2 separate regions of the Homo sapiens genome follow, and region 1 is linked to region 2. Evidence: promoter capture Hi-C in human tissues and cell types (Jung and others, 2019). All regions are on one chromosome and are shown on one strand. The core of a region is centred on a gene start or on the middle of the fragment in contact, and the rest is flanking DNA. Distances in the headings are between cores, read along the strand shown. Region 1 overlaps EIF3B (eukaryotic translation initiation factor 3 subunit B). Region 2 holds the start of AMZ1 (archaelysin family metallopeptidase 1).

What was found. Contacts are between HindIII fragments. The study calls those that stand out against the background at their distance.
Region 1: a fragment that was not itself captured here is called in contact with the fragment with the promoter of AMZ1 in region 2 in 1 of the 25 tissues and cell types used here (dorsolateral prefrontal cortex).

Annotation. Positions count from the first base shown.
Region 1 is chr7:2,362,132-2,365,194 of GRCh38, reverse strand. EIF3B (eukaryotic translation initiation factor 3 subunit B) reads right to left here. Exons shown (of 19, transcript NM_001037283.2): 3 at 2,431-2,550; 4 at 2,068-2,125; 5 at 1,435-1,563; 6 at 666-823. Among named protein-coding and RNA genes, the nearest start is that of EIF3B, 8.8 kb to the right of the region's middle. The HindIII fragment of the contact is 3,706 bases long and covers 1-3,063 here.
Region 2 is chr7:2,686,597-2,689,861 of GRCh38, reverse strand. It overlaps AMZ1 (archaelysin family metallopeptidase 1), which reads right to left and starts at 1,660. Exons shown (of 7, transcript NM_001384743.1): 1 at 1,566-1,660. RefSeq lists an enhancer at 692-961. The HindIII fragment of the contact is 48,320 bases long and covers 1-3,265 here.

The DNA of each region.
Region 1 (3,063 bases), core at 521-3,020, 320 kb after region 2:
GAGATCACTTGAGCCCAGGGGTTCAAGACTACCTTGTACAACAAAGTGAGACCCCCATCTCTACAAAAAATAAAATTAGCCATATGTCATGGCGTGTGCCTGCGGTCCCCGCTACTCAGGAAGGCTGAGGTGGGAGAACCGCTTGACCTGGGAGGCTGGGGTTGCAATGAGCCTGCAATGGTGCCACTGGGTGGCGCCAAGCCTGGGTGATAGAGGAAGGACAATTTATTATCTGTAAAATACGTGACCTTAGACTAGATCCTGAACTGAAGGAAAGTAAGTATTATACAGAACATTATTAGGTCAAGTAACAAAATCAGAATATGGCAATACATTGAAGTATTAAATGAATGGTAAATCCCTGAAGTCAGTACCCACACTATGGTCACACTAACAAAATCCTATTTCTAGGAATACACATTCAGGGCTAAAGGGACATGTTATTTCAACTCACTCCCAAATGGCTCAGGAAAAAATATCTGTATAGGAGATGATGACGTAAATGCAACCAAATGTGAGAAGATCTCAGTAAAAAGCTTATTAGCGTTCTGCATACTCCCGTATTTTTCTACTAAGTTTGAAATGCTACAAAATGAAAGATCACCTGTAGAAGGCTGGCATGGGGTGAAATGCATAGACTCCCCTGTGTTTTTCTAGCAGCTTACCTTTCACAAGGTGAGAAGTCAATAAGCTGAACCCCTTGGTGGCTGAATCTCTGAATTTGCTTGAATTTCTCTCCCCCCCATAGAGCAATGCCTCTTTGATGAAAGGTAGCCAGGTAGGTGCCCTTAGGAGACCAACGCACATACGTCTCTGTCCATCTCTGCAGAAAAAGGCAGTGCCAACGTTAATACAACAAAATGGCAAACACAAAGACCCCTCCTACAATGAATTTATCCTACAATGAATCTGTTCTACAAACTTTTTTTTTTTTTGAGACGGAGTCTCGCTGTCTCCCAGGCTGGAGTGCAGTGGCGCAATCTCAGCTCACTGCAAGCTCCACCTCCCAGGTTCATGCCATTCTCCTGCCTCAGCCTCCCGAGTAGCGGGGACTACAGGTGCCTGCCACCATGCCCAGCTAATTTTTTTGTATTTTTAGTAGAGACGGGGTTTCACCGTGTTAGCCAGGATGGTCTCAATCTCCTGACCTCGTGATCCACCCACCTTGGCCTCCCAAAGTGCTGGGATTACAGGCGTGAGCCACCGCGCCCGGCCTATTCTGCAAACTCTTAAGTGAAATACACAAAGCCTGTTCACTTCTCAGGATTTACTTCAAAGCTGGAAGAGGAATAAAAGAAGTTGTTTTCAGAAAGTAATCTCAAAGAAAATATAACGTCACCTGCTCTTCCAGTTTTCTGATAGAAACAAAGTTCCACTTTGTTAAGGAAATACAGGAGAGGTGAGTCCCCGCCCCCAGCAGCAGCAAATACACACCGCTCTTTCTTCAATTGAGACAGGGTCTTTTACGTCATTCCAGAATATGGAAGTGCGGTCTCCACTCTCAAAAATCACACTGTACTGATCTCTGCATTCTGCCTCTTCAAGCCAGTAACGTAAGTTCCCCTTAAAAACAAAGACAAGGAATATAACATTTCATTAATTTTAATAAAAAACTCATTCACAACTATTGCTCTTAAAGATATGACAAGTTCAGTCCACATCTTAACTCCCAAGTCACACCCTAACCTCAAGTCAAGACACCGTCTAGCATTTCTTTTTTTTTTGAGACAGAGTCACGCTGTTGCCCAGGCTGGAGTCCAGTGGCACAATCATAGCTCACGGCAGCCTCAACCTCCCAGGCTCAACCTCCCAGGCTCAAGTGATCCTCCCCCCTCAGCCTCCCAGGTAGCTGGGAATACAGGTGCATGCCAGGCCCAGCTAATGTATGTATTTATTTACTTTTTGTAGAGGCGGGGGTCTCACTTTGTTGCCCAGGCTGGTCTTGAATTCCTGGGCTTAAGCGATCCTCCCACCTCAGCCTCCCTAAGTGCTGGGATTGCAGGTGTGACCCACCACACCCAGCAGCATTTCTTTAAACCACTGAGATGTAGGTTTCAGGCCACTCACCAGGTCTTTGAAAGGCTGTTTCTCTGGAATATCCCACTCGTCACTGATCGTCATATACCTGGAGAAGAAAGGAGACTGCTGAGCCCCACGCCCTGACGACTAGAAAGAGCAACTCGTGGGGGCTCCAGCATGGCCCTGCTGTGCTCCTGCCTGCCCGCCCCCAGGGCTGTGACTGGCATAACAGGGAGGGGTGCTGTAGGCCAGAAGTGTGGGGCAGGGCTGTGAAATGGCTCTGCGGCAGCCTGACCAGAAAGGATGTGAACAATCTGACAGACACCAGCACCGAGAAGCACCAAGCCACCCGCACACAGCCAGTCACTTGCACGTCAACGTCCACTTCCTTGTGGCCAAGTCTGAACTCACTTGTCAAAATCCGTAAAGAGGTTGACCCGGAATGTGTGCTGCTTGTCAAGCTTGTAGCCGTCGGCGTTCTTCACAGCATCCACAGCGTGGGCAGGGGACGCGTACTCCAGGAAAATATACCTGAGTGAGAGAGGGCCGTTGGCACATACCCACACTGTAAGGCTAGGCAGGTATGCGCTGTCCGCCCCACCCCTCTCCACGGACAAGCCCTCGGTGCCAGGAGTATCTGTGCTGCTCTTCCTGCCTCGAGCCTAAGGCAGTCACACGGGGGACAGATCCACAGCCAGGGAGCTCCTAAGTGACAGGGAAATCCTAACCAGAAGATCCGAAGTCTCTAGTTTCATTATCATAATTATAGAAAAGTTAATCAAAACGTCCATTATTTTGACTGTGGCGATGGTTTCGTGATATGTACACATCAAAATGTATTAAATTGTACGCTTTAAAACTATGCAGATTTACTGTATATCAATTATCTCAATAAAGCTGTTTAAAAAAAAATCTTGGCTGGGCGCAATGGTTCACACCTGTAATCCCAGCACTTTGGGAGGCCAAGGTGGGCAGATCACTTGAGGTCAGGAGTTCGAGACCAGCCCGGCCAACATGGTGAAACCCTGTCTCTGCTAAATATAC
Region 2 (3,265 bases), core at 411-2,910:
CAGCTTCGCAGCACCCTCTGGCACTCACCAACCCATCCATGCTCCAAAAAGGAGACCCCCAGATGGAGGTTTCTCGCTGTCCTTTGGACCCTGTCACAGTGTGTCCCCCTCCTCTGCTAACTGCAGTCATGACAGCAGCCAACAGGTCTCATGCCTGCGTCCTCCAAGCCACACACGGAGCCGCAGGTGCCACTGCGGTGTTTCAGGTGGGGAAACTGAGGCTCAGACGTTAAGTGACTTGGCCCTGGCGACACAGCTGGGGGCCAGCGGGGCCTGGTTTCAAAGCCACGCTTCACACTGGAACCCCAGCTGCTCCTGGAGCAGGGATGTTCTGACGGGGACAGGGGGTAGGACGTCTCCTCTCCCAGAGCACCCGAGTTCCAGCCCTGCTGCTATTAATACCATGGGTAAACTCAGACGCTTCTCCTTCCTCCTCCCCTTGCCTTTTTTTGTCCAAAGACTGGAAAAGAGCACGTCCGCATCCCCCCCCCAGGGAGGTTCTGCCGCTCTAAGCAACAAGGGCCGCCAGACTGGCCCAGTAACCAGGTATCCAAGGTCAGGCTGCCCTAAACCGCACAGCTCCGGGCACTCATGCTCCCCCATCTGACCACGCAGATGCCTGGCCTTTGGGCAAGAAACCATGCTCTGATTCTCGCTATTCTGAATGCGCTTTGCAAAACCTCCCAGCAGCTGCATCGAGCTATTCATTAGCTGACAGCGGAGACCTTCAGGCAGAACCAGACGGACGGATGGTTTTGGGGGTTTCTCACCTCTCAGTTTCCATTCGCTAGGAGGGAAAACCGGGGGCTTAGACCGCAGGGGTAGTGGCCTCCGGGCCAGACTCTTGGCTTCCTGTTCTCTCTCCTCACCTGCGAACCCCAAACTCCTCTGCCAAGTGTTTCCCTCCCGTGATGGGGGCAGAAAGGACCCAGGTCCCTGCCCTCCCCTGTCCTTTGTAAAGTTTGCCATTTCTCTGTCACCCCTCCCTTGCTTTTCTGGTTTTGAGACCTGTCTTACATCCCTGCAGGGATCATATCCACAGCCTTCTCCCTCAGTCTCCTGGGGGAGGAAGCCTTCTCCCTCCCCGGCTCATACACAGGCTGCGGGGAGCCCTGGGCACGACGAGATTCTCGGCGCCCTGGAGGTTCCCCGGGGACGTCCCGCACCCACCTGGCTCGCCCCAGCCCGGAAACGCCTTCTTTCGGGCGCTTGGCCCTGGATTCCCGACCCGTCCCCAGTTTGCTCCCATCGGGAAGCGCGCAGGTCGCCCTGGCCTGGGAGAGGATGGCGGGGAGGGGGCGCGTGGCCCTTCCCTGGCCCGGCCTTCCCTCTGCAGGACCTGCCGGGGCTGTGCGGACCCCGGCGCGGCGCTGCACCAAACCCTCGCCAAGTGCGCCCTTCGCGTCTCCGCGGTCCCCGCGCGCCCGTAGCCGCCGCCGCCCGGGCGCCCTCGGGACTTGGTGCGCGGGCCGGGCTGGACCCGGAGCTGCCCCTACCCACCCGCCCCGGCACGGAGGTCCCTCTCGGTCCCTGCGCCCCCGAGTCTTCCCCGCGCGCCCCCCTACCTCGCAGTCCCGCGCCCGCCGGAGCCGGCAGAGGCCGCGCCGGGCACCGAGCCCCGGGCAGCAGCGTGGGCAGCTCGGCCTGGGCCGGGAGGATCGGGAGGTCCCGGTGACGTCGGCGCGCGGGGCAGGGACCGAGGCGGGCGGGACTGGGGCCGGTGTGGGGCCGCGGGCAGGACAGGAGGGCCACACCCCTCCCGGCGCTCAGCGTCCTGCCCCACTCCCTCCAGCTGCCCGCGGTGGAGCTCACGTGGGACCCTCCAGCCTCCCAGAAACACCCGGGCAGGGGGGCCCCAGAGCCTAAAGCCAAACAGGTGAGGGAGGTCAGTCAGCCCGGGCCAGTTCGTGCCTCCCCAGGTGAGAGGAGTAAACCCGGCTACTCTGCAAGGCGCCAGGTGAAGAGGTGAACCAGGCCACCAGTTAAGGCCCCAGGTGAGAGGGGTGAACCAGCGCCACGAGGTGAGGAAGGGGAACCAGGCCACCAGGAGAGGCCCCAGGTGAGAGGGGTGAACCAGGCTATCAGGCAAGGCGCCAGGTGAGGGGGTGAACGAGGCCACCAGGTGAGGAGGTGAACCAGGCTTATCAGCGAAGCCCCAGGTGAGAGGGGTGAACCAGGCCCCTAGGTTAGCCCTACAGTCAGTGGCCCTGAGGACGGGCGCCCTGCCCTACCCTGGCCAGCTGTGAGTGCAGCCCTGGCCCTGTGCCAGCCACCAGGAGATGGAAAGGACTCTAAGTGCGGAAGGATGCCGTGAAGGCCGGCATGACGGCTCCAGACAGAGCCCAGAGGCCTTTTCCATAAACTGCCCTTTTCCTCTCTGCAAACCCTCCCAGCACCAGCTTCCCTCGGGCAGCCTCCCACCAGCTCTGCTTCACCGTGCAGAAATGCCCCCCACGCCCTCAGCAGCGCCCCACAGATGGCTGAGGGATTCGTCACCATCGTCCCACACCAGTGCAAAGAATTTTTTTTTTTTTTTAGATGGAGTCTCGCTCTGTCGCCCAGGCTGGAGTGTAATGGTGCAATCTGGGCTCACTGCAACCTCCACCTCCGGGGTTCAAGTCATTCTTCTGCCTCAGCCGCCTGAGTAGTGGGGATTATAGGTACCCATCATTGTGTCCAGCTAATTTTTGTATTTTTAATAGAGATGGGGTTTCACCTTCTTGGCCAGGCTGGTATCAAACTCTTGACCTCATGATACACCCGCCTCAGCCTCTCAAAGTGCTGGGAGTACAGGCGTGAGCCACCACACCCAGCCTCAAAGAATTTTTTTAAGCCTTAAGAAATAACACGGCTGGGCGTGGTGGCTCATGCCTGTAATCCCAGCACTTTGGGAGGCTGAGGCAGACAGATCACAAGGTCAGGAGTTCAAGACCGGCCTGGCCAGTATGGTCAAACCCCGTCTCTATTAAAAATAAAAAAATTAGCTGGGCGTGGTGGCTGGTGCCTATAGTCCCAGCTACTCGGGAGGCTGAAGCAGGAGAATCACTTGAACCCGGGAGGCGGAGGTTGCAGTGAGCCGAGATTATGCCACTGCACTCCAGCCTGGGTGACAAAGCAAGACTTTGTTTCAAAAAAAAAAGAGAGAGAGAGAAAAACAACACAACACTAGGTGTCCGGTGTGCAAAATTTGGAAAATTATGAAAAATAAAAACAAAAAGAAGACCCCATAAGCCAACTGTGTAGAGGTAACCTCTCTCACCTTCTT